Regions from separate parts of the Homo sapiens genome. Here regions 1, 2, 3, 4, 5 and 7 are each linked to region 6. Evidence: promoter capture Hi-C in 16 types of primary human blood cells and fetal thymus (Javierre and others, 2016). All regions are on one chromosome and are shown on one strand. The core of a region is centred on a gene start or on the middle of the fragment in contact, and the rest is flanking DNA. Distances in the headings are between cores, read along the strand shown.

Evidence for each region. The method cuts DNA at HindIII sites, captures the fragments that hold promoters and counts their contacts. A CHiCAGO score of 5 or more calls a contact.
Region 1: a contact is called between a fragment that was not itself captured here and the fragment with the promoter of H3C10 in region 6, in 5 of 17 cell types (total B cells, total CD8 T cells, monocytes and 2 more). The highest score is 11.5, in total B cells.
Region 2: a contact is called between a fragment that was not itself captured here and the fragment with the promoter of H3C10 in region 6, in 17 of 17 cell types (fetal thymus, total CD8 T cells, erythroblasts and 14 more). The highest score is 41.7, in fetal thymus.
Region 3: the fragment with the promoter of BTN3A2 here is called in contact with the fragment with the promoter of H3C10 in region 6 in 12 of 17 cell types (M1 macrophages, monocytes, activated CD4 T cells and 9 more); the score reaches 11.6 in M1 macrophages.
Region 4: a contact is called between a fragment that was not itself captured here and the fragment with the promoter of H3C10 in region 6, in 16 of 17 cell types (erythroblasts, fetal thymus, megakaryocytes and 13 more). The highest score is 30.2, in erythroblasts.
Region 5: a fragment that was not itself captured here is called in contact with the fragment with the promoter of H3C10 in region 6 in 2 of 17 cell types (erythroblasts and M0 macrophages); the score reaches 8.2 in erythroblasts.
Region 7: a contact is called between a fragment that was not itself captured here and the fragment with the promoter of H3C10 in region 6, in 1 of 17 cell types (monocytes). The highest score is 5.1, in monocytes.

The regions. Positions count from the first base shown.
Region 1 is chr6:26,326,029-26,329,851 of GRCh38, forward strand. It overlaps TRS-AGA2-1 (tRNA-Ser (anticodon AGA) 2-1), which reads left to right and starts at 1,561; the gene lies at 1,561-1,642. It overlaps TRR-ACG1-1 (tRNA-Arg (anticodon ACG) 1-1), which reads left to right and starts at 2,112; the gene lies at 2,112-2,184. It overlaps LOC101928743 (a long non-coding RNA gene), which reads right to left. Exons shown (of 3, transcript XR_241992.5): 2 at 2,982-3,059. The HindIII fragment of the contact is 3,995 bases long and covers 1-3,504 here.
Region 2 is chr6:26,194,538-26,198,051 of GRCh38, forward strand. H3C4 (H3 clustered histone 4) reads right to left here and starts at 2,749. Exons shown (of 1, transcript NM_001376937.1): 1 at 2,247-2,749. The coding sequence starts at 2,713. The coding sequence ends at 2,303. It also overlaps the pseudogene H1-12P. RefSeq lists enhancers at 1,080-1,129, 1,876-2,477, 1,990-2,099, 2,478-3,078. The HindIII fragment of the contact is 159 bases long and covers 1,962-2,120 here.
Region 3 is chr6:26,363,808-26,367,578 of GRCh38, forward strand. It overlaps BTN3A2 (butyrophilin subfamily 3 member A2), which reads left to right and starts at 1,391. Exons shown (of 11, transcript NM_007047.5): 1 at 1,391-1,545. RefSeq lists an enhancer at 1,349-1,398. The HindIII fragment of the contact is 4,055 bases long and covers 1-3,664 here.
Region 4 is chr6:26,236,640-26,240,059 of GRCh38, forward strand. No RefSeq gene overlaps it. Among named protein-coding and RNA genes, the nearest start is that of H4C6, 2.0 kb to the right of the region's middle. RefSeq lists an enhancer at 3,381-3,420. The HindIII fragment of the contact is 583 bases long and covers 1,291-1,873 here.
Region 5 is chr6:26,298,130-26,302,108 of GRCh38, forward strand. TRR-TCG4-1 (tRNA-Arg (anticodon TCG) 4-1) reads left to right here and starts at 1,548; the gene lies at 1,548-1,620. LOC124901287 (a long non-coding RNA gene) reads left to right here. Exons shown (of 2, transcript XR_007059520.1): 2 at 1-835. The HindIII fragment of the contact is 1,637 bases long and covers 1,212-2,848 here.
Region 6 is chr6:27,807,984-27,811,777 of GRCh38, forward strand. It overlaps H3C10 (H3 clustered histone 10), which reads left to right and starts at 2,068. Exons shown (of 1, transcript NM_003536.3): 1 at 2,068-2,553. The coding sequence starts at 2,091. The coding sequence ends at 2,501. H2AC13 (H2A clustered histone 13) reads left to right here and starts at 190. Exons shown (of 1, transcript NM_003509.3): 1 at 190-684. The coding sequence starts at 227. The coding sequence ends at 619. RefSeq lists enhancers at 334-533, 452-1,050, 1,734-2,405, 2,022-2,311, 2,406-3,077. The HindIII fragment of the contact is 5,605 bases long and covers 863-3,794 here.
Region 7 is chr6:26,470,469-26,474,389 of GRCh38, forward strand. LOC285819 (a long non-coding RNA gene) reads right to left here. Exons shown (of 4, transcript NR_038992.1): 4 at 1,476-1,725. It also overlaps a transcript of BTN2A1 not described here. Among named protein-coding and RNA genes, the nearest start is that of BTN2A1, 14 kb to the left of the region's middle. RefSeq lists an enhancer at 3,367-3,416. The HindIII fragment of the contact is 2,280 bases long and covers 625-2,904 here.

The sequences.
Region 1 (3,823 bases), core at 257-2,756, 1.5 Mb before region 6:
GGAGGCTGAGGCAAGAGAATTGCTTGAACCCGGGAGGCGGAGGTTGCAGTGAGCCAAGATCGTGCCACTGCACTCCAGCCTGGATGACAGAGCGAGGCTCCGTCAAAAAAAAACAAAAAAAAAAGGTGGTCTGAGGGCTGGGGAAGAAGAGCCAGATTTGAGAGCTAATTAGAAGGTTGAATTGAGGGCCTGCTGGGAAGGGAATCAGAGAGACATAAAAGGACAAGGGTAGTCTTCGGTCTTGGTAGCCAGTCTTCGGTTTTGGTATCTCATCAAAAATTTGGATTGTTGGAGGAAATTTAAGTTTGAGGAAAATGATGGAACATTCCTTTGGGGTTGCATTGCTTTTGAGATGCCCATGGACATGCAAGAAAAAAAAATAGGACAACTGTATATTCTGGAGCCCAGAGGAGAGAGATCTGGAGTAGAGACGATTTTCAATCCATCCGCACATGAGCAGTAGTTCATCAATCATTCCTTACCCTTCTTCTGTTCATAGAGTTGGGCCATTGATGAAATACAGAATCCCTGACTTGCTCACTAATACTCACACACACACACACGCATAGTATTGTGGTAATGGTAGTGCAGTTTTAGAACCTGGGGTTCTGCTCTTCCTTTGGAAGTGGTCTTTGAATATAATTTCAAACTATTCACAGAATATCAGATGCAGTTGTTCTTCCCCTTGTGAGAGAAGGCCCCATAAACGAAAGAGGATTTGACCAGCAAAAATATTTTTTACTTTCTAGTTTCTTTCAGAAATGTTCTTTCAGCTGGTTAAAATATTCTGAGTTTTATGAAAAGACAGAAGCCTATCTTCACTGAAGAACCTTTTGATGAATCTAGATTCTGGGGTTTTACAATGATAGTTACAATTGTACTGACATTTGTTGAGCCGTTAGTATATCGCAGGCACTGGACTTTGTCAGAAAATATAGGGGATCTCTGTGGAACATCAGTGTTATTTACTGAGGATAATTTTCTTTCTTTTTATTTTTTTAATCTATTTTTTATTTTTTTTTTACCCCCGAGACGGAGTCTTGCTCTGTCGCCCTGGCTGGAGTGCAATGGCGCGATCTCGGCTCACTGTAAACTCCGCCTCCTGGGTTCAAGCGATTCTCCTGCCTCAGTCTCCCGAGTAGCTGAGATTACAGGCGTGCACCACCACCTTGGCTAATTTTTTTGTATTTTTAGTACAGACGGGGTTTCGCCATGTTGGGCAGTTTCAAACTCCTGACCTCATGATCTACCCGCCTTGGCCTTCCAAAGTGCTGGGATTACAGGCGTGAGCCACCGCGCCCGGCCTGAGGATAATTTTCTTACTAGGCAAAAATATGAGAATTGTAAAAGTTGTTGAAACATATTCCTGATTTGCATTATAAAAAAGACCCAAAGAACATTCTTAGCGTATCATGTATGTGCCTGAATTTGAAGTTTGTTGATTGCTTCCAAGTTTTATTCTTAAGATACGAATTCAGCTATTATTAAATCCCTAATAAAAGGAGTACAATATGTGATGTATGGAAACATGTAAGACATTTAATAAGGTTTTTGGTATCTGTAGTCGTGGCCGAGTGGTTAAGGCGATGGACTAGAAATCCATTGGGGTCTCCCCGCGCAGGTTCGAATCCTGCCGACTACGGCAGTGGGTTTTTGCATCTTCAAGCAGGTTTCATCCGACCGATCGATATTTCACGTGTAAAAAGGCTTTCGATCTTTTACAAGTTAACATCAAAATGGATTTCTTGGGGATTCAGGGCAGGACAATTTCAATTTATGTCTCAGAGGTCCTCAAAATGGATTTCTCATTGCCCAAAGTAAACCTTATCTCTGATCTTTTACAAGTTACATCATAATGGATATTTCATTGTTCAGGAAGGAATCATTGTGCACAAGGATGGATTTCTCATTACCCACGAAGGAATCATACTTCATGAGTAAAACAAGTCAAAGGAACAAATAAAACTATATTTTGTTTTAATTGGAGGGTTTTGGGTTCAAAATCCTTATGATCAGAAAGAAATAAAATTTCATATATTCATGTATAGGAGGACGCGGTAATCCCAAAACGTTTTTTTCTATAGGTATAACGCCTGTCTTCGTTCGTCAGAGGGCCAGTGGCGCAATGGATAACGCGTCTGACTACGGATCAGAAGATTCCAGGTTCGACTCCTGGCTGGCTCGTTCGACTTTAGTGGAAACTTTGAGGTTTACATAAATGCCCCTTCCCTGGGCACTCATATACATTTTATGTATTTTATCATTTTAATTTTTAAAAGAATTACACAAGATGACAAAAATTTTTATAATATAGACTCCAGCTTCAGTTCACTATTGTTTTACATACATAAGAGTTTTTTTTTTTTAAATCACATCACTAAATTGATAAGTTTCAGAACTGACCAATTTTCACATTGCTTGATAAAACTTAATACAGGGGAATTTTTTTTTCTTTTTTTGAGATGTATCACTGTGTCGCCCAGGCTGCAGAGCAGTGGCGCGATCTCAGCTCACCGCAACCTCTGCTTCCTGAGTTCAAGCGATTCTCCTAGCCTCAGCCTCCAGAGTAGCTGGGATTACAGGCATGTGCCACGACACCCAGCTAATTATTTTTGTATTTTTAATAGAGAGGAGGTTTCGCCATGTTGGCCAGGCTGGTCTGGAACTCCTGATCTCAAGTGATCAGCCCGCCTCGCCCTCCCAAAGTGCTAGATTACAGGCGTGAGCCACCACGTCCGTTTGGGAAAACCTTGTGTCATTCTGTGAGAGTTACGATTGAGAATTCACAAACAGAAAATTTCTAGATAGCAAACAATTTTGGTTTCTTTTCTATCCTTTTCGCATACTCATAATTTCAAGAATCACTTGAAACAAAAATCAAGTCTCTTCTCTGCTCCCTGTCCTCTAGCAATTTTTAAAGTTATTGAAACATATTCCTGATTTGCATTATAGAAAACACCCAAAGAACATTCTCAGCTTACCACATATGCGCCTGAACTTGAAGTTTGTTGATTCCTTCTAAGTTTTGTTGGCAGGACGTGAACTCAGCTATTAAATTCCTGGTAAAGCGAGAGGTACAATATGTGACATATAATAACATGTACGACGTTTAAGAAAACTTTTGGCACCTATAGTCGTGGCTGAGTGGTTAAGCCTACTTTTTAAACATTTAAATAGCTTATTTTAAAATTATTTACCTACATATCTCTAAATAATATGTTTGTATGGACCTTCTGTTGACTTTATATAAGAGGAGTAACTGGTTCACTTTCTTCTTCACACCCCAGGACCCCCGACACACACATGCTCCCTTTCTAAGTCTTCTCATATGGTTATAGCACAATACATGATACTTTAATATTTGTAGCTTAAAATATGACAACTTTATAAACATAATTCAACAAGTGGGCAAAGAAATACATTGTTAAGTTTTCCTTTCCTTGCAATTTTTATTTTTCCCCGGCATTAGTACATAACTGTCTTTTCTTGTTGTTTTACTGCTTAAGCTTCTAGACACTTTTCATTAATTCAACCCCAAGCATTTCGTCAGTTGTCTAAACATTTCTCCAAAAGTTCAAAAGCTTTGCACAGTCTGTAGATTTCATCCTACTTTAAACATGTCTCCTTATGCATCTGTATTAGTTTGAGTAAACAGAAAAATAAGAACAGGAAAAAAAGTGTCACCTACAGCCTGCTCAAATCTGGACATGTTACTATATGTCACATATGGTACCTCTCATTTTACTAGGGATTTAATAATACTAGGTGAGTTCATGTCCTACTAATAAAACTCGGAAGGAATAGCTGAAATAACTTTTGAAGT
Region 2 (3,514 bases), core at 791-3,290, 1.6 Mb before region 6:
TGAATATGAAACATGGCTGTTTTTTAAATTTCTCTCTCTAGGGAATTTTGTGTGTGTGTGGTGCTTGTGTGTATATTCTTTGATCCTGGTACTTGAATAGTTTACCAAAGTCTATTTTCCCCGTGTCACCAAGCATGACAGACCCCTGAACCCAAAGACTCATGAATATTTTAATAACAAATTTCCCCCAGTAAAAATTTAAAAAAAAAATTTTTTTTTGACCCTTAAATGAGTCAAACTCTGTCTCTTTTATGTCCTTTCGTGGATCTCTCCTGAGTTCAGCTATGCAAACAGTCCCAATATCAGGAGAATCAGTGATCATTGTATTTCCCATTTTCCCAAGGAAACGTTGAACATTTACTGGAACCCTCCCAAAGTAACTAAACGTCCAAATAGTTACAAGAAGCTATCATGAAATATTTTCAGCCCCAGCTAATTTTATCAGAAAGGGCTGTTGTTCTAAGTATCCGTACTGCTGTTCTTGTGGAGAAATTCAAAAAGAACCTGTTGTTTCTCTTCTCATATAAAACAGATTTCCTCGTTAAATCTCAATGAAAATCAAGTAGTTGTTCAATGTATGAGAAGCCAAAAATGTGTAGGCTATTATTAGAAGACAGCAAACAATTGAAGACACGAATGGAAGAATTTATATTTTAAATGAAAATCAAGAAGTTGTCCCTCTGAACTGTGAATCTCTGAAAGTTGGAACTTTTGATAAAGGCCGAGGCTGCCTTAAGTAAAAACTAGAGAAAGAAAATGTAAAGATCATAACACCGTAGCCGTTCCAGTTCATTGTAGAATAGAATTGGTGTGATTCCTCCTCAGGAAATTTAAACTATTTTGATTTTCTGAATTTCCGCAAACACAACTCAGAAACAGGGTTGAGACTAGGTTGCTGCCAAGCTGAAAGACTGAGCTGGGAACCAATCAGCGCGCAGCGTGTCTGTGTGTGACACACACGTAATCACAGACACACTCGCAGCCTGACTTTTTTTTTTTTTAACTGTTAGATATCCAAACCTACAATCATGTCCGAAACTGTACATGCCGTGACTCCTGGTCTATCTCCCAAGTCAAAGACTGAAGTAAAGAAAAAGGTTGCAAGTCCGAAGTTGCAGTGAAGTGCAAGATGTCCAGGCCCCTCCGGTATGTGAGTTCATCACTAATGACTTAGCCGTCTCCAAGAAGCGCAGCGGCCTTCTCTGTGGCCGCGCTCAAGTAGGTGTTGGCGGCTACGATATGAAGATCGGCCCTTGCCGGTCGCGGTGGCCTACGTTTGTAATCTCAGCATTTTGTGAGGCCAAGGCGGGAGAATCTCTTAAGCTAAGGAGTTGTTTTTGGTGGTTTTGTTTGTCCTTGGGGATTTTTTTTTTTTTTTTGAAGGAGTCTAGCTCTGCTGCCCAGGCTGGAGTGCAGTGGTGTGATCTCGGTTCACTGCAACTTCCGCCTCCCGGGTTCAAGCCCTTCTCCTGCCTCAGCTTTCCATGTAGCTGGGACTGCAGGCGTGTGCCACCACACCCGGCTAATTTTTGTATTCTCAGTAGAGACGAAGTTTCAATGTGTTGGGCAGGCTGGTCTCGAACTCTTGGCATCACGTGATCCGCCCGCCTTGGCATCCTAAAGTGCTGTGATTACAGGCCTGAGCCACCTCGCCTGGCCAAGCTAAGGAGTTTTGAGGCCAGCCTGGGTAACACAGTGAGACCTCGTCCCTAAAAATAAATACAAATTTTTAAAAATTATTTGAATAAAGTTGGGCCTTGAAAACAAACGAGGGCATCTTCGTGCTAAGGAGTGCAGCGCCTCAGGTTCATTCCCGCCAAACCAGGCAGTGTTAGGAAAATCAAGACCGAGGCCAGAAAAGCCGCTGCAGTCATGCCCAAGACAGCTGTCCTGGCAGCCGAGAGGCCCAAGAAAGCTTGGGGCGTCCTTATTCCGAAAAAGAGTACTAAGCGGACCCCAAAAGCTTTTGCTGGTGGAGGCTGCTGGAGAAGGTTGGTTGGTCAAAGGTGGCCAAGAAAGTTCCCAAGCCGGAGGCATCCAAGCCTAAGAAAGCGGCCCCCAAAACAAGGAGATATAAGAGTACCTTAAAGGCTGTTTTAAGAACTCCCCAATTATAATAAAGCTTTTTGCACCAATTCCGTGAGGGGAGGGGGAACGGATAGAGGCAAGAATGCTTACTTACCTTGAGTGAACAGAGGTTCCAGTTTACGGACAGCAACAGTAAACAGCAACTTTTATAGAAAAGGTGGTTGGCTCTGAAAAGAGCCTTTGGGTTTTGGTTAGCACACATTCACAAGACAATTTACGCCCTCTCCCCACGAATGCGGCGAGCAAGCTGGATGTCCTTGGGCATGATAGTCACTCGCTTGGCGTGAATGGCGCATAGGTTGGTGTCCTCAAACAGCCCCACCAGGTAGGCCTCGCAGGCCTCCTGCAGCGCCATCACCGCCGAGCTCTGAAAACGCAGATCAGTCTTGAAGTCCTGCGCGATCTCACGGACTAGACGCTGGAATGGCAGTTTGCGAATCAGCAGCTCGGTCGACTTCTGGTAGCGGCGGATCTCGCGCAGAGCCACCGTGCCGGGCCGGTAACGGTGGGGCTTCTTCACGCCGCCGGTGGCTGGAGCGCTCTTTCGAGCAGCCTTGGTGGCCAGCTGCTTGCGTGGCGCTTTCCCACCCGTGGACTTGCGAGCAGTCTGCTTGGTACGAGCCATTGCGAACTTCTAAACCCTGCTAAATGACGAAAAAACGAAAGTCTAGCCTTTCGTACCCGTATATATAAAGACACCCCTGTTCTGATTGGACAAGGCAGCCTTTCCCCTGCAGCTCGATTGGTGGAGACGCCCACTCCCTGACAGAACATCTCCTGCATGTAGACCAAATATTAAAACTTTCCTCCGTCCATCTTTAACTGCTGGTGTTTTCAACCCTTTCCCCTCTGTGCCATGTTTCTAGCTTTTATTTAAAACGTACTTTGGTTTTCCTTGGCAAAATTGTGTCTAGCTACTAGGATGACGTGTCTTAATTTTTTTTTAAATGTTGGCGCTGAAACTGGCTTTGATCAACGTTTTAAAAAGACGCGCGCTAGTTGTGATTGGCCAAGTGATTTCTTTTTACCCTCTTAAGTTTAGAAAGGTTAATTTCATATCTTGATTTGTCTATTTAAACTTGGAGATATTTTCAATAATTTGTTCCAAATGCACCATGACTATTAACTCATAAGTAACAATATGAAACCTGATGTTAAGCTACATGAACACATTTAATTTCACCACAATATGTCATCCTCATATGAAAGCACTCTTATCTTTTACAAGTTCAACTGGTATTTGTGTAATCTGCTGTAAAAAAAAAAAAAAAAAAAAGCCAAATTTATAAATGGCACAAAAAGACCAGTGTGCCCTTTTAGTCATGCTGAACACTGTGCTAAGAAGCTCCACCTAAGGGCCGTCTGGCTCCAGGGGATGTAGGTTTGTATTCCTATTGATAATTAATTAGGGTTAGCTCAGTAGAGT
Region 3 (3,771 bases), core at 141-2,640, 1.4 Mb before region 6:
TGTTTTCCTTTCATGAAAAACAAACTTATTTGGAAATTTACCCTGAGTACTAATATATAATAAAATATTTTAAAAGAAAAAATTTTTTAAATAAATTTAGATGGTGACAGTCCAGGGCTGATCTGGCACCTCAGATATGTCATTCATGCCCCAGCCTGCTTCTGACTTCATTCTCTGCTGTCCCAGTGTGTGGCTTCCAACCTCAAGGCTGCCTCATGGTCCCAGGGTGGGCTACTGCACCTCCGGGTCCAAAGTCCATGTTCTAGGCAAGAGGAAGAAGGAAGAAGGGAGAGTGTACCCTCACACTCCCAGCTATTTTGGCCTCCCTTTGAAGGATTTCTGGGAGAAGTACAAGCCCACAACTTTCACCTACAAACCGCTGGCTCCAACTTAGTCCCTTGGCCTGCCCTATCTTCAAGGGGGAAGAGCAGGATGCAGTACCCCAGAAAATTAGGCCTTGTCACTAAGAAGAAGGGGGCATGCACGCTGCAGAAGCAACCAGCCATCTCAAGCAGATACCACACAGCCTAAATTCAAACTGTTGCAATATAATCAAATCCCATCAGCTCCAGTCACATATTAGCTCTAGGAGATTTCTGGCTTGCAGCCCAAAAAAGTGTGTTTTGAGGTCGTAAGCCACAGGGAGAACAAGATTGTCCCATAAACTCCTTACAGAGATGGTGTACAGGAAACGAGCCTTACAGAGACCACAGCCTATGGAGTGTCTAGCTTCAGAGAATATGTACTCCACTGGCAGCGTGAGAAACAAATACCCAAGAAAATACAATATAGCACAAACCAGGAGCTGAGGGTGAATGAAGATGCTCAGAAAGATCTGCAGTAAGAATTTCCTGGGAAAGGTAAAACAATGTCAAGCAGCACTGCCTCTGGAAATCAGAAAAATTATATTATTTGATACCATATCCTAAGCCTAAATGCCAGAAGTTCTTAAAGAGGTGCAGTTTGTCTCATTTTCTTTCCATTCATACCTTTATTAGGCTCTGTAAAAAAGATCCTCCTCTTCTACGTACCTATCTACATGCAAGCAAACTGCCACAGAAGCATCTTAATTAGTGCACATCTTCCTCTCTTTGCACATTAAATTTTTTTACTTTCCTACTCCATTCTGCTAATATTTCTATTACCATGTAAAAGACACGAGACAGGTGAATATAAAGAAATACTTATATACATCCACGCACAAGAATGATTCAAATAGATAAACACAGAAACACAAACACTAAGGGAGGTAGGGCTGGAGTTTTTCCTCAACGTGTACAATTCAATGTACTTTCAGTTTTCATTTCAACGTTCCTCAGTGGTTTCTGCCCAGCAACTGATGAGAAACATCACCTCTGAGCCAATCAAAAAACTAATTCTTCCAAAGAGCGACTCTTACTGTTTCTCATGGTGAGAAGACAATATTTGCTTTCTCTTTTTCCTTTCTTCCGGATGAGAGGCTAAGCCATAATAGAAAGAATGGAGAATTATTGATTGACCGTCTTTATTCTGTGGGCTCTGATTCTCCAATGGGAATACCAAGGGGTAAGTGCAGGAAATTGATTAGAGCCTGGGCTACAACGCATGGGAGGAGCGGGGCTGAATCGCTGAGAGTGGTGAGTGGGCATGCAGGGAGAGTACTCTCCCAGAGAAAGGGGTGCAGTGCCTGTGTGTGTGTGTGTGTGTGTGTGTGTGTGTGTGTGTGTGTGTACATGTGTACATGTGCACACTCGCACATGCACATATGGGCACGTGGGAAGACGGGAGAAGTACTGCAAAGTATAAGGAACTGCAGAGGTTGGGATTTAGTGGAAGGAAAGGGAGACAACATGAATGAAGAAATATTCCAACTGCATGTTCTTAACGTATTGTGGTCAGAAAAGGGCAAACAAACAAACAAACAAAAAACCCTTAAAATCTGTTCTGGCCAACTCAAGGCATCTATTCTGAGAAATTCTGAAGAAGAAGAAGAAAAAAGAGATGTGCCTCATAGATTTATATGTAAATGTGTTTATTACAGAAGTATTTATAATATAGTAAAATCTGAACCAACATACATATTCAACAGGTGGGGAATAGACAAACAATGCATGGTTCAGTCATAAAACATGTTCCATGTAACCATTAGGAATCATAATTTTAATTAAGTGAAATTCTTTATAATTTTAATAACACTGGATCCTTATATTAAACCATTTTTGGTATCTTTTAGGGATAGTACTTGGTTTTCTTTCCATTCATCATTTCCCCAAAACCTAAAGCATGATTTCCCATGGTTACAAGCTACTACATTGTATGAATATATAATTATTGGGAGTCTCTGTGAGCCTACTCTGACTCAGAAAGCCGCTCCTAAAGAAGAAAAAAGAACAAACAAACAAATAAAAAACCCGAATTATTTTTAAAACTCTTTATTTTGGATTTTTCAGTTTCTACATTTTGTTACTGTAGATTTTACTAGATTGAACAGCCTTATCCATAAATATTTGCATCAATCTCTAAATTTTTTTCTTCAACACTAACTTTTATAGTTGGAATTTTGGGGGCAAATAATACAACATTTTAAAGGCACTTGCCATGTGTACATGGCCAAATGCTTCCAGAAACATTTCCACTTCCATTAGCAAAGTATATAACTACAGAGTATTTAAGGTTTTATTCCTTTATATTTTTTTCTTTGGCAAAATTGTCTATAGTAGAAAGAATGAATAATAAATAACCTAAAAAATAAAAGTTCTCCCTCTGAGGACAGCAGAGAAATTTTTAGCTTAGCTTAATAATACCTCCTTCTCCTTAGGAGAATAAAGAGCAGTTTCGAGGAGCAGAAGATGTGGTGAAATATAATGTTTAGTCTGATGGTGGATGCAAGATCCAGGCAGGGGTGGAGCATGACCAGCTGCACAGACCTCTGTTCCCTTGCTTCCTCTACATCTCTCCCCACCTCCATCTGCAGACCTTGTTCTCAGAGGCCATTCCCAGACCCACAGCAGCTGGTATGATGGCTGCAGGCCTCATGCTCCTTTGTTTTGGGAGAAACTGTTGAGGAGTTAGTATTTACTGAGCAGCTAATATGTTCCAGTCACTATTATTCCTCATAATAATTAGTTATTAACTAATACATGAAAATTTTAAACTTAAAGCATTCCAATAATTTTAAAAGTAAAGGAAGCAAAAGGCCAAAGCGTCCTTTCACTCACTTAACCTCCAATTTTCAGTTTAGCATCCATCATTTTAGACTTTTTCAGGCATTTACATATATAGTTATGCAGAAATGTATAGCTTTGCTTTTGTTTTTCAATTGAATCATTAGTATAGTTCTGCAAGGTGCTTTTTAATCACTTAGTATATCTCCATTATCCAGGCTAGTGACATTAAATCACTCTTTTTAACTGCTGCATTGAATTTCCTCCTAGGGATGAGCCATCATTCCTCTAACCAGTCTCTTGTGAGTGGCTGGTTCAGTTGGTAACCACTTTTATACTTTAAAAATAGTGCTGCAGTGTCATTCCCACAGAGGCTTCTCTCTGCACCCATGCGAGTACTTCGCTGAAGTAACCATCAGGAAGTGGAATTGCTGGGCCAATTGTGAACATTCTAAGTCTCATACTCGATATTTTTGAGTAACTAAAGTTGAAATGGTTTTGTCCCATGACTGAGATCATCAAGCTTGTGACTTGTAGAGCCTTTACCTATTGTCTACCCTCTTTGTGTTCCTAACTCTACCATAGTGGGTCCAGCCCATTGTGGGTGCTCAGTAAATATTTGTTGAAT
Region 4 (3,420 bases), core at 332-2,831, 1.6 Mb before region 6:
GCCTGACCAACATGGTGAAACCCTGTCTATACTAAAAATACAAAAATTAGGCGGGCATGGTGGCACACGCCTGTAATCCCAGCTACTTGGGAGGCTGAGGTAGGAGAATCGCTTGAACCCGGAAGGCGGAGGTTGCAGTGAGCCAAGATAGTGCCATTGCACTCCAGCCTGGGCAACAAGAGTGAAATTCCATCTCAAAAAAAAAAATTACTAAGCTTGTCTTAAGTAATTATTTACTCTCTTGCATGTATTAGAAACAAGTCTCTGGGACTTAAGACCGTGTTATACACCACTGAAATACAAATGTGGTTTATAAAAAAGCTAAACTTATAGAATTGGATTAGTAGGACCCCACAATTCCAGTAGGGAAGCATTTTATAGGTTTCTGGAGGCAGGGGCGGTGCATCATTATGGATATCATTTTCAACAGTGATAGTCACAAGCATACTCTAAGTATTTTTTTTTGGGACCATAGCTTTATATTGCCTAGACGTAAAGGTACAATTAAAATTCAGATTGTTTACTGTTTATTATTTTGATCATTATTGTAGTCTTAATAGTTGTTGAATAATTGTTGGAATTGTTCACCGTGTTAGATATAGTCAATTAACAGATGCCACCATTTCATTCTTGTGCAACACTGACTGGTTCCCATAGCTACTTAGGATCTCAGTAAGTAAAAAGGCATTGGGCTAACTAATCTCTGCTCTTTCTGGAGGGCAATAACTGAGACTCAGTTTCACCAACAAAGTTCGCCAGATGTTCAAAGAGGAAAGGGGCTAGGCTACATAAGTTGGGACCTGGTACTTATCTTCTCTGTAATTGTAGCAAGGACAAGGTTCCTGAAAGCTGGATCACCCCATGGACTGTAAACTTGAAGTCCTGCAAAGTTTCACCTATTACTTTGGTAGCCCTCAAAAAGAGTTCTGTGTTGCTTTGGAATCCTAAATCTGAATATAATCTAAAACAGTAGATTTCCCATTACACTGAGGTTGGAACCATTTATTTTATAGATGCAAAAAGTAGCTAGGAAAAACTAGTTAGATAAGTGATAGCTATCTAACTTAAGGCCCAGTGTTCTCTTCATTTTGTGTTAACTCCCCCATCCCCACCACCACCATAGTAAATGACTATGAGAGTTGTAGGTAGTATTCAATAGATCAATCCAGTGACACTGTGCTTAAGCATCACACAATTCAGATTTTAAAGATTTCCAAAAAAAAAAAAAGAAACTATATAGAATAAATATTAAAAGGGGTGAAAACATATATAGACTATTATAGAAAATAAAGCTTTGTGTTAGAATCAAACGTGTTCAAAAAGTCCATGAGAAATCACATCGATTGTAACCGTCTATGAGGTAGTCTTACCTGAGGACACTGGCTCCTTGAAATTCCTCTTCAAGTACAACAGTATTGTGTTAATTTTATTTCCTAAGAAGGCCACTACTATACTCAAACTTACAGTTTTCTCTTTACATGTCTCAGGCATCCACCAAACTCCCTCCTCCCTTCTAGACTGGATTAGAAGCTCTTCAGAAGAAACCCCCTTATCACAGATACAGCCCAATAAAACTTTCTGCGATGATAAAAATATTCTGTATTAACACTGTCCAATAGGTAGCCACTAACCATATGTGGCTACTGAGTACCGTAATGTGGCTAGAGTAAGTGTGCAAATTAATTTTTAATTTAAATTAATTTAAATAAAAATGAGCACATGTTGCTAGTGGCTAATATAGGACAGCAGAGCTTTAAAACAATTATTCTCAAACTTGGAAGAGCATACCTACCACCCACTTAGAGATCTCATTAAAAATGTAATATCAATTCCATTGATTTGGGGTTGGGCCCGAAATTCTGTATGTCTAACAAGCTTCAGAGTGATGCCAGTATAGCTGGGATATGGCTGCTCCGCCCTTAAATACCTGACAGTAAGTAGAAGTATGCTGGTCTGATATCTGCCCCCTAACCCTGAGTGTACTTTTCCCTTTACTAAACTTTTGAGTTCTTTAAGAGAATAAATGTGATTATCTTTGTAAACCTGGTATTTGTACACTATTCTTGGCATGTAGTGGACATTAAATTGTTGAATGAATGAATGATGCTTGTTTGGTGCCTACCTCAAAAAGGAGAGCACTTGAGATCCTTGTGTCTATTCCTACAGGTAACTGAACCTAAGCCAAAATTTAAGTAGACTCTTAACTCCACAAAATGAATAATCTTCTCACTGCTTTTAGGCACCAGCAGAGACGGGATTTTTAAGTTACCCTTGCAGTATATAGGAGGCAATGAATGTGAAGCAGTAGACTGTAAGAGTTAATGTTGAATTTTTCTACTACACATACCCTATGATCTGTGTGTAGAACACTTCTTCCGGAATCTTTTATTAGGACAGTATTTCACAGAATTTATTAGTATTATTTTTGTTAATTTACAAACCTTTATTCACCATGATTTACCATGTATGCTTTAGTGGCATGAAAGCAGTGGTAGGTAGCAAGGTAGTGAGACTCCAGAATCGAGCCAACAATACAATGCCATTTATTAGAGGATAATGTCTTCAAGCCTGGGATTCCTTATCTTTACACCTCAGATATTGCATTATACATTGAAAAACTAAGAATGAAACTTCAATTAATATTGGTTTCCCTTACTAGAGGTCTTTCTTTATTAGGAATGCCAAAAACGATGTGAATGTATATGTCTCTGCCAAACGCTAAGTCTCATGATTGGCCAAATTTAAGAAGTATTGCTACATTTTAAGAATTAATAAAAATGGCCGGGCGTGGTGGCTCACGCCAGTAATCCCAGCACTTTGTGAGGCCAAGGTGGGTGGATCACCTGAAGTCAGGAGTTCGAGACCACCCTGGCCAACATGGCGAAACCCCGTCTTTACTAAGAAAATACAAAAATTACCCAGGTGTGGCGACGCGTGCCTGAAATCACAGCTACTCGTGAGGCTGAGGCATGAGAATCGCTTGAACCCAGAAGGCGGAGGTTGCAGTGAGCCGAGATAGCGCCACTGCACTCCAGCCTGGGCAACAGAGTGAGACCCCGTATCAAAAAAAAAAAATTAGTAAAAATACATTTTCAAAGAATCTTCACATTTAAAAATTAAAGCTAGGCGCCTGTAATCCCAGAACTTTGGGAGGCCGAGGCGGGTGGATCACCTGAGGTCAGGAGTTCGAGACCAGCCTAGTCAACATGGCGAAACCCCATCTCTACTAAAAATACAAAAATTAGCCGGGCGTGGTGACGCGCGCCTGTAGTTGCAGCTACTGCAGGGGCTGAGGCAGAAGAATCGCTCGAACCCGAGAGGCGGAGGTTGCAGTGAGCCGAGATCACGCCACTGCACTCCAGTCTGGGGCAGAGCAAAACTGTTTCAAAAGAAATAATAATTTTATTCTCTTGTCTATCC
Region 5 (3,979 bases), core at 780-3,279, 1.5 Mb before region 6:
ATATTGTTAAATAATTATCACATTGGCCGGGCGTGGTGGCTCACGCCTGTAATCCCAGTACTTTGAGAGGTCAAGGTGGGAGGATCAGCTCAGGTCAGGAGTTCGAGACCAACCTGGCCAACATAGTGAAACCCCGTCTCTACTAAAAATACAAAAATTAGCCAGGCATTGGTGGTGGGCGCCTGTAATCCCAGCTACTTGGGAGGCTGAGGCAGGAGAATCGCTTGAACCTGGAAGGCAGAGGTTTCGGTGAGCTGAGATGGTGCCACTGCACTCCAGCCTAGGCCACAGAGTGAGACTCTGTCTCAAAAATAATAATAATAATAATAATAATAATAATAATAATTCTCACATTGAAGATGATTGCAGAATTCGAAAATAAATGAGAAATTCGGCATATTTTTATTGAGCTCCTACTATTTGTCAGATGTTATTCTATGGATAGGGAAAGAAAGACTATGTAAAAGGCCCAATTTCTATGCACCAGAAGCCGCTATATTTGCTAACCAAGAGAAACCAAGACTTATCACAAATGAGCCAGGAGAGCCATTATTCCCAGTATCTGGGGTTTAGGAAAATTAAGGAAATGTCTTATATGTAGGCTGTTGACATTATCTTCAAATGAAGTACTTGACTTCACAGAGATTCACTGACAGGCTTGAAAGAAGCCACACAAAATAGAACTTTATATGCCATGATGGGGCCAAGAGCGCTACGGAACATTATAAATTCTATAAATATCTTCTCCATAGTATGATGCTAATGCATTACATTTTCGTGTTGATTCATCTATTAAATGTAAAAATTGTTAATAATAAAAATTTTTGCATTTCTATTTCGTGTTCCTTCACTTCTTAATATATGGGAACCTCAAAAACTGGTAATGGCTCTAGTCCGCTCGGCACTCCTGAGAAACCCCAAGGAAAGTATTTTCTTTCCTTTCTAAACAGAACCATACCACGAAAAGTGCTCTGATATCACATTATCACAATCAGAGAAAGTACCAGAACAGCATGGAGAGGGGGTAATTGTCTCCGGGGTCTGCAGATATCCATGCAGGATGGCGAGAAAGACCACGGTACAGATGTTGCCTTGTGGTAAAACTGCCTTCCAGGTACAGTTTTCTTAACAACTATCTGGGCAGACCCTGCAAGAACCTAGTCTGTAAATGGTGAATGTGGATGAGCATCATAGGGAAGAAACCTTGAGTAAGCTTATTTTAACATATCCTTCGATGCAGACAATATGCAGAATTTTAGCATCTTTTAGATGCCATAAACTCCGCTTCTTCTGCCTTGGGAGTCAGAACAAACGACTTTTCTCTCCAAGGAGTAGTTATATTACCACAAGACTAAAATAATTGTCGATACCAACCGTTTATAAATCCCGATTCTGTGGCCCCAAATATCCCACCTAATCTAAAGTTTTCATTTTCTCATTGGCGAAAACACGGGCGCTGTAGATGCCAACACGGGGGGTTGGAGGGGGCGGGTGGGGGGAAGCTCGTTTTATTTTCTAAGTATTGCAGCAACAACGGAACTGCGGGGGACCACGTGGCCTAATGGATAAGGCGTCTGACTTCGGATCAGAAGATTGAGGGTTCGAATCCCTTCGTGGTTAAGTGGGGTTCGTTTTCGGGCATGAAAATTTTATTACCCATTTCATTCCAAGAAAAAAATAAATCATACACTCTCTGGGTTTTCTGAATCCTTTTTTTCTTCCATCTCCTCTCCTTTAAAGGGAAGAAGGAGACATTCTCAAAGGCCTTAGGAGAACAAGTGACAGAGTGAAGAAAGACTGGAAAGTCAAAACTGAAATACAGCCATCTACTACTTTGGAGCTGTCAGGTTCTCCCCAAGTTTGGATTTTAAGCACCTGCGTTTCGGTTTTGTAGGCTTAGATTCAATTCAAGGATTCAATTCCTTGAAAAAAAGAAATTCAGATCTATAAGCCAAGCTGTCTCAAACTGTAGCGTCTCAGACTAATGCCAGGCCCCAGTGGCTAGCACAGTAGGAAACCTGTTGCTTCTTCTGATTTAGCACTAGGCCAAAAACTCTTCACATTTCTTTTTTAGTCTACATCCGCGTGTACCAAGGAGTTTTGGCAGCTGCTGAAGCCTATGTTACTAGTTCTTACTCTCCATTTTAACTTTTTTGTTGTGGGTGTGTTGCCATCAAAAGGATGAGAATACCTAATATTGAATTTTATATTGCAAAGCAAAAATATAAAGGTAATTAAAATAGTCCAACTGGTTACAGTGTGTGTGTGCAAACAGGAAAAGACAGGGAACACAGCTGTGCAAAATATATAAAAAACATTTTGTATTCCTAAATAACATTTTGTGTGCCTGAATTTAATAATAATTTAGGATTAAGGAAAAGTAATTTCCAATTGCTGACATCATGATGAAACATAAGACATTTGACTCCATCCAGATGAGATCATTGATTCAAATCACATGGAGTCCATAAGTGTGTTTCTAGATCAAAGCAAAGAATATTAAAATTAGTAATAATTACCTCTCCCTGTCCCCAGCTTCTTCCATAGCTCTGTTTGATTCTGGTTTCCTCTAGTCATCTGTAGATTCCAAGTTGTATAAAAAATGTGGGGATTGAGCATTGGTTTCCAGACTTTGAAATTTATTGGATTAGAAAGTGTCAATGTCCTAATGTCATGCAAAACCATGTTCTGCCTTGTTAATGGCAAAACCCACCATTTGCACTGAGCATCCTTTTATAAACTAGAAAAAGGATATAACCTCAAAAGAAGAGTAACCTTTTAAAATGAATACAGTGATACTTGAGAATTACATAGCCCACCTTTTTTCTTGATTCTAAGAACAGGAAAAAGCTTCCTCCTCTCTCTCTGATCAGTATGTAACCCTGTGTACCAGAGGATGAACAAGACTTTTTCCAGGGGCCCCACAGCCTCCCTCAAGCATTTAATGAAAGTGGAAATTCTGATGCAAGAATATAAAAATTTGCCTGTCATAACCCTTTCTCTCTTCTTTTTCTTTCTTTCTCTACTGCACTGATAGCAAAGAATGCCAAAAGGAGGAGAGAGACTTTCCAGACTGGGAAGTGCCAAAAGGGAGAAAACTGAAAAAGATAGGGAAATCTGTGGACATCCTGAGTCTTAAATGGTCACCGTGATTTAGGAACTTGTCCCAAATCCACCAAATAAAAATATATGCACCCTTTGATGAATGTGTAAGCCTTTCTGCTTTGAGAGTGGGATTCAGAAAATAAATAAATAAATAACATGAAAAACATCTTTTGGAGCTGGATTAAAAAAAAGCAACTGGAAGAAAATAAATCAAGAAGAAAGATTTCTAGATGTGTATCACAAACACTGGGAGTTGGGTCCAGTTGCACAGGGGATTAAGAGATTCATGAATTTAATAGAGTAGCCCCCCTTATTTACAGGAGTTATGTTCCAAGACCCCAGTGGATGCCTGAAACCTTGGATAGTGCTGAACTCTATATACACCATGTTTTTTCCTATACATACACACATATGATAAAGTTTAATTTATAAATTAGGCATTTTAAGAGATTAACAACAATAACTAATAAAACAATTATAACAATCTACATACAGTAATAAAAGTTATATGAATGTGATCTCTCTGTCTCTCAAAATACTTTATTGTACATTACTCACCTATTTTCAGACCTCAGTTGACTATGGGTAACTGAAACCACACAAAGTGAAACCTCAGATAGAAAGGGGACTACTGTAAATGTTTATGGAGCACCTACCCTGTGCCTGCTTCTCTCCCCAGCCACTGTGCTAGGTACTGGGATTCTAGAATATAGGATCTAGCAATCTAGGAACACAGTAACAAAAGTACACAAAAACCCATGTCCTCAAGAGGTTTGGAGTTGAAGGAAGAGAGGAGGAGACAACACAGAAAACACAAAATGAATAAGTAGATTATATAAGTAAATTATACTTTATATTAGAAGAGATATATTCT
Region 6 (3,794 bases), core at 818-3,317:
TGGGAAGGTCTCTGCTGATTGGTAATTATCCGTGGATGACGACAGATGCCAGTTTTGCCCAATCAAAATAGGTATCCTGCATAATCGAGTCCTATTGGTCTAAATAAAAATAAAACGTAAGCCAATCGCACAGCTTCCTTTTCGCGCCCAGTAGAGGCTATAAAATGTACGTTTTTCTAGTTTCACTTCAGTCTTTCTTGACCGTATAGATAATAGGCCTTTTGCCATGTCTGGGCGTGGCAAGCAGGGAGGCAAAGCTCGCGCCAAGGCCAAGACCCGCTCTTCTCGGGCCGGGCTTCAGTTTCCCGTAGGCCGAGTGCATCGCCTGCTCCGCAAAGGCAACTATGCGGAGCGGGTCGGTGCTGGAGCGCCGGTGTACCTGGCGGCGGTGCTGGAGTACCTGACCGCCGAGATCCTGGAGCTGGCTGGCAACGCGGCCCGCGACAACAAGAAGACTCGCATCATCCCGCGTCACCTCCAGCTGGCCATCCGCAACGATGAGGAGCTCAACAAGCTTCTGGGCAAAGTCACCATCGCACAGGGTGGCGTCCTGCCCAACATCCAGGCCGTGCTACTGCCCAAGAAGACCGAGAGCCACCACAAGGCGAAGGGCAAGTAGAAGCCTGGATTAGTTTGCAGCAACTCAATCCCAAAGGAACCAAAGGCTCTTTTCAGAGCCACCTACAATTTTGTGGAAGAACTGAGCACTATGTTTAATGTAATTTCTCGTCTTTGCCTACTTCTAAACCACTCCAAAGGTTACGTAGATCAGTCTTCGGTGTCTTGGTTAGGTAGTGACAATCTCGTTAGCTTTATAAAAAGCCTGGATAACATTAAAAGTATTAAACACGCCTTCATCTTAAGCTTAGTGGAAGAAAATTTAGTTTTTCCTAAGCTGGCATTATCCAAGTATGTTGAATTCTGTATGGTTCACCGTCGGGTTTTACTTTTAGTCTGTTGAAGCAAACATGTCTGCTTTGGGGCCAGATGTTTTCTGGGTCTTGGTAAATAACAAACCGGGCATTCGACGTTCAATCCAAATCTAGATCAACGACTTGGATTCTTCATTTCTGAGAAATATCTCTCGAATCTGTATAATTAATTGCATTTGAACATTAATGATTGAGTTGAGAATAATTATTAGACTAATTAGAACAGTTACTTATGGTGCCAGGTAGTTCTCTTTGAAGCATTTTCTGAAAATTCATTGAAATTAAAATTTCCCGAGCTTTCCCACCCCCAGCCACACAAATTGATTTCTTAGTACAGAGATGACTTAATTTGTTTCAGCATGGTAAATTCCACTTTTAAAATATCTGACTTGATGTTTTTAATCTGAATCAGATCTGGATGTACGAATGGAATAGATTCTTAAAAGAAAATGAATTACATTTCTAGAGTATTGGAAAAATAAGCTGCAATGGAATTACTTTAATCTAAAAGTGAAAAGTTCACATAAAGTTGTTTCTTTGACATTTTTTGGCCTTGAATTTCTCACATGCGAACCAGCTTTTCTTGGTTATAAAAATAGAAGTTTTTTAAATTTAAGTGGTCAAAAGATAGAAAATTGAGGGGACAGGTGTATAAGGCTGTCCTGTCCAGTATTGCAGCCACTAGCCAATTGTGGATAGTGATCATTGGAAATTCCATAGCATGAATTTTATATAAAATACACATTGCATTTGGAAAAGTCAGTGCCAAAAAGTGTAAAATACCTAACAATTTTAATTTCGATAACATTGAAATATGTTGGCTATATTGGATTAAGCAAAATATTAAAAATTAATTTTTCCTTGTTTTGTTACAATGTTCTCCTAGATAAGTGTAAATTACTTATATTGCTCTCATTTCCACTGGAAATCGCTAGTATAGTGAACAACTGTATAGCGAAAATAGAAAATAAAATATGGAGACCATGAACTGCTAAGTCTGTCAGAGGAATAGGTGAACAACAAAAATTTGAGTCCTTCGCCAATCCGGTTACTGTTGGGTAGGCCTTCAGCATACTTTTGTCCAATCAGCTTCAGACTCTCACTATAAATAAGCGGCTAGCTTTCTCTTTCTCCTGAAGTGAATCTAGCTCTGAAGGCATGGCGCGTACGAAGCAGACTGCTCGCAAGTCCACCGGCGGCAAGGCTCCGCGCAAGCAGCTGGCCACCAAGGCGGCTCGGAAGAGCGCTCCGGCCACCGGCGGTGTCAAGAAGCCCCATCGCTATCGGCCTGGTACAGTGGCTCTCCGCGAGATTCGCCGCTACCAGAAGTCCACCGAGCTGCTGATCAGAAAGCTGCCTTTTCAGCGTCTGGTGCGTGAGATCGCGCAGGACTTCAAGACCGACTTGCGCTTCCAGAGCTCCGCGGTGATGGCGCTGCAAGAGGCATGCGAGGCCTACCTGGTGGGGCTCTTTGAGGACACCAACCTGTGCGCCATCCACGCCAAGCGGGTGACTATCATGCCCAAGGACATCCAGCTCGCACGTCGTATCCGCGGCGAGAGGGCTTGAGTCTCAAGGACTCACTGATTACATACCCAAAGGCTCTTTTCAGAGCCACCCACATGCGCGCTGAAAAGATCTGTTTCTCTCAGGAATTCTTCCTGGTACTTGTTTTGCCTGTAGTAGATAGGGCCCATTTCCAGACGTTATACAATCTGTTTCGTAAGACTCAGCCTATCCCTTTTTGAATGCTAATTTTGGGAGTCTTAACATCTAATAATGTCCGGCATTTTTCCGTAAGCATTGAGTGTAGCCAAAAGTTCCTTCGTGTATTGCTCTCCCATCTCCGCAGCCCGGTTTTGACCGGATGGTGCTTCTAATTTTCTGCTAACCTGTACTGTGGTGTGTGTATATTTCTTGCCAACACGCCAGAAATAAAACTAAGGTTGTACTGAAGTTGGAAAAATTCAGGTTAATGTAGCTCATGCTGGCTAAAGTGAAACGTTCTCTCCCCGCCCCCCGTTCCTAAGCAGTGTTAAGTTTTCTTTGAATTTTTTCAAGCCGGATTTTGGGCCTGCTTAAACCACTTAAATGTAGTTAATGACAGATGGTTTGAGGTTTAAAAGTCTTCTGGAGAAAGCCCGCCAGAGAACATTCCCTTTGAAGCCCCATGTAAAAATACGTGTGGGAGAGAAAGTGTTTTCTCTGACTTCTGCTGACAGTGGCTAAAACTCTGAACTGTCAGGAGTATTCAAAATAAGACTGCCTTGTAGGTAAGCCTGTGGTAGTTTTTTTGAGCACAGGATAAAATACTTGAGTCTTTGCTTAAATGTTACTTTCTCAATGAGGCTTTGTATGACTAAATAAAATCTGTATAATCCCCACCTATTTTTTTCACCCTAGAATTTGTCACTATATGCTGTACCAGAGTTTGCTGATGTATTGCTTGTGTGTTCTAAAATACAGGCTCATGAGAGGAGGAACTTTTGTTTACTCGCATATCTCCAGTAACGTAGGAGCTTTTGATCAGTATTTGTTGGATAAATGAATGAATGCATGGGTATATAATAGTAAGGAGACATACCCACATGGAAAATCTCAAATGAAAGAAATACATCAGCTTGGTAGATATGCTCAAATCAGCTTCTTGTGGGCCAGGAAAGCCCTTACCTCATCCATTCTTGTATTCAGAATGCTAGATTTCTATAACTTCTTCTGTGAGCTCTCTAGCATTCTTATAAGTATTCAAGATTTTCCCTGGCAAATTGGCTTGTGTATGTGTGTTATCATCTCTGTCTCTCCTTAGCTTAACCTGTGAAGGATGTAAGTGGAAAGATCATAGTATTTTTACACTGAGTTTTA
Region 7 (3,921 bases), core at 515-3,014, 1.3 Mb before region 6:
TTAGGTGTCAACTTGATTGGGTTAAGGAATACCTAGACAACTGATGGAGCATTATTTCTGGATGTGTCTCTGAGGGTGTTTCCAGGGGAGACTGGTATGTGAGTCAGTGGACTGAGTGGAAGAGATCTGCCATCAATATCTTTGGGCACCTTCCAATCAGCTGTGAGCCCAACAGAGCAAAAGGCAGAGGAAAGGTGAATTCTCTCTCTCTCTCTGTCTCTCTGGAACACTCTTCTCTTGCTCTTCAATATCACAACTCCAGGCTCTCCGGCCTTTGGTCTTTGGGACTTATACCAGTGGCCCTGAGGTTCTCAGGCCTTGGGTCTTTGGACTGAGTTACGCCATCAGCTTGGTTCTGAGGCTGTCACACTTTGACTGAGCCATGCTGCCAGAATCTCAGGGTCTCCAGCTTGCAGATGGCCCGTCATGGGATTTCTCAGGCTACATAATTGCATGAGTCAATTCCCTTAATAAATGCCCTCTCATGTCTGTATCCCCTATTGGTTCTGTCTCTCTGGAGAACCCTGACTGAAACGATCAGGCATCTAAAATGCTGGCTTAAATGATAGTGTTTTGGATTTTAGACAACTCAGTAATCCAGTTGTAAAACTGGGTTGAACAAAAAGCTTTTTAAACAGTCTGAAATTATATTACTGAAATTACAAATGACACATTATGGGAAGAATCAGGAACATATATTTAAATACCTGATTTGTTAAGGCAGAAAACAGGGTTGTTTATGTGCATGTTTTAGTCTGCCCAGACAGCTATGACAAATATACCAAGACTGAGTCGTTTATAAACAACCAAAATTTTTTTTCTTGCACTCTGGGGGCTGGGAAATGTAAGACCAAGGCACCAGCAGTTTGGTAACTGGTAAGAGCCTGCATCCTTGTTCACAGCCTTTTAAATGTGTCCTCATATGGCAAAGGAGAAAAGTAGATCTTTGGTTTTTGTCCCAAGAAACTGGAAAGATGGGCCGGGCACGGTGGCTCACGCCCGTCATCCCAGCACTTTGGGAGGCCAAGGCAGGTGGATCACTTAAGGTGAGGAGTTCGTGAACAGCCTGGCCAACATGGTAAAACCCTGTCTGTACTAAAACCCAGAAGGTGGAGGTTGCAGTGCACCACTGCACTCTAGCCTGAGTGGCAGAGTGAGACTCTCAAAAAAGAAAAGAGAGAGAAGGAAGGAAGGAAAGGAAGGAAGGAAGGAAGGAAGGAAAAGTAACTGGAAAGATGAAGTTGTTAATTTCTGAGATGGGGAAACGGAGAGACAAGGAGCAAGACGGGAGTGGTACAGAACCAAAGGTTCAGTTGTGGATACATTAAGGTTGAGGAGTCTATATTAGAGATGCACATGGAGATGCAGAGTAGTCCATTGAATAACCAAGAGTCCAGGTGAGACCTCAAGGCTGGAGATAGAGATTCCATACTCAACTTTCCTATATGTTTGAAGAGTTTCATGATACACTGTAGTGGGTAGAGGGAAGAATTGTATTTTGTTATTAATAACAGTCCTGAATATCATTGGCTTTGACAAAATGAGGACTTCTTTTCATGTCAATAAATATGGATGGTGGCCATCAAGGGCTGATCTGAGAGCTTGAAATGTCATACATGCCCCAGCTTAGTTCTGTCTTTATTTTCTTCTGTCTTAGCATGTGGCTTGCATCTTCAATGTTGCCTCATGGTCACAAAAGGGCTGCCCAGCTCCAAAGTCCATATTCTAGATAAGAGGAAGTAGAAAGTAAGGGGAGTGTAAGGGTCTACCAGCTGTTTTAGCCTCCCCTTAAATAATCTGTCTGATAAACTTCCACCCTCAAGCAATTGGCTCAAACTTAGTCCCTTGGCTTCCCCTGTCTACAAATGAGATGGACACCTTGCAATAAGAAAATGGGATTTTATTACTGAGAAAAGTAGATCTGTTATTGAACAAGCAGCCAGCCAACTCTACCACAGAGCCTAAATTCAAACTGTTGTAGTATCATTTTCTACCAGCCAAGGTTTCAGCTAAGTCCTAGGAGTTTTAATTACTTTAAGGGTCTGTTTTATAACATAAACAAATGATAGGCCTTTATATTTTATTTGTGACCCAACTAAAGTTGCAAGTGCTAGTGATACAGGATTTTTATTTGTCACTTTGCAAGCAGGGGACCTCTGGCCAGCAACACCCCACCCAAGCCTCGCTTGGCTAAACTGGCATGCCCCAGCTCACCTGTGTTATAGCTTATACCCACGTTCAGCAGTTCCTGAGCTCTTGTACCATGCCCAAGAAGAATGAGGATACACTAGACGTTGAAGGGTGAGGAGGGCTGAGAAGAATTTTATCAAGCGACTGAACAGCTCTCAGCAGAGAGGGGATGCTGGCACCCCTACCTGAAGGCAGGAAAGCTCCCCCTGTGTGGCTGGGTCCAGGCCTGTTTTATGGACTCAGAATGGGAAGTGTGTGCTGAATGGTTTGTGAGTATGCAAAAAAGGTTAAAGTGAAGACACCACTCAAAGATGGCCACAACAGTGTAAAAAAACAATTAGGAAAGTGTGGGTATATGGAAAGTAGTTGAAGGGTGGGGACCAATCAGAGGAAAGTGCACCAAACAGGAAGACAAGTTCTCAACAAGTTCTCAATTTGGGCTGAGGATTTACCTTGTAGTTTGGCTTTCAGGCTTTAAACTGTCTTCAGCTTGGAGGTGGGGTATCACTGGGGACCCATTGCTACCTGCCTAGGCATCTGACTGCCTCCTGTCTGCTATCACTAGGTCCCAAGGTTTGTAGCAAGGACCCCTTACAAAGACATCCCCCACAGTCTACCCAAAGGTTAACCTTAGAACATATTTCATTGTCAGAGTGAGAAACAAATACACATGAAAATACAGTATGGCACAAATAAGGAGCAAGAGGTGAAGAAAGCTTCAGTCACACCCAAAATAATTTTGTGAAAAATATAAAATATGCAGTTATAGACAGCACTAACTCTGGATACCAGAAAATTCTATAATTCGGTAATGGATCTGAGACCTGAATTTTGGAGGTACTAAAATAGATGCAATAGATCTAGTTTTCATTATGTTCATACTTTCATTTGGCTCTGTGGTAAAAGATGATAATATCCAAAACAAAAGATGATAATATCCTCCATGTAACAATTACATGCAAGGGGATGTCTGCAAACTGCCACAGTATCATTTTAATTAATACCTATCTTCTCTTCTTAAAATCTTTTCATTTTTCCACTCAGTTCTCCTGATATTTCTGTTATGATATAAAAGACAGCTGAATGTGAAGAAACACTGATTGTACACGTAACACACACATTAATGATTCAAATATGTAAACACAGAGAGCTGCAAACACTTTGAGAGGTAGGGCTGAAACTTTTCGTCAATGTGTACAATTCAATATCGTTTCAGTTTTCATTCTAACCGTCCCCAGTGGCTTCTGCCCAGCAACTGATGAGAAATGGTACCTCTGAGCCAATCAAAACACGAATTCCTACAAAGAGGATTCTCTTAGTGTTTCTCGGACCGAGTGTACAGCACATGCTTTCTTTTCCTTTATTCTGGATCAGAGAATCTTAACTAAAGCAGAAATAATTGTGTTAAATTAAACTAAATTTGGTATGAGATATGTATACATTTAGCCTGAGGGATGGCTCTTGAGCCCTTAAATAATGAACTGCAACCTAACTTAGTATGTAAACTAACTGAAAGCTTAAGGCATGGGAGTATACTTTTGTAACAAATAGCTGAGTCTCAGCCAATCCCAGTAGCCGAACTTCAGTCGGCGGCAGTCAACCCTGCAGCCAAGTGATCAGACTATGTTCAAATAAGGCCAACTCTGAGCTGTAACCAATTAAGCTGTTTCTGTGTGTCACTTCCCTTGTGGAATGGAGCTCACTGAACCTCTCTGATGGCTGCCCGATCGT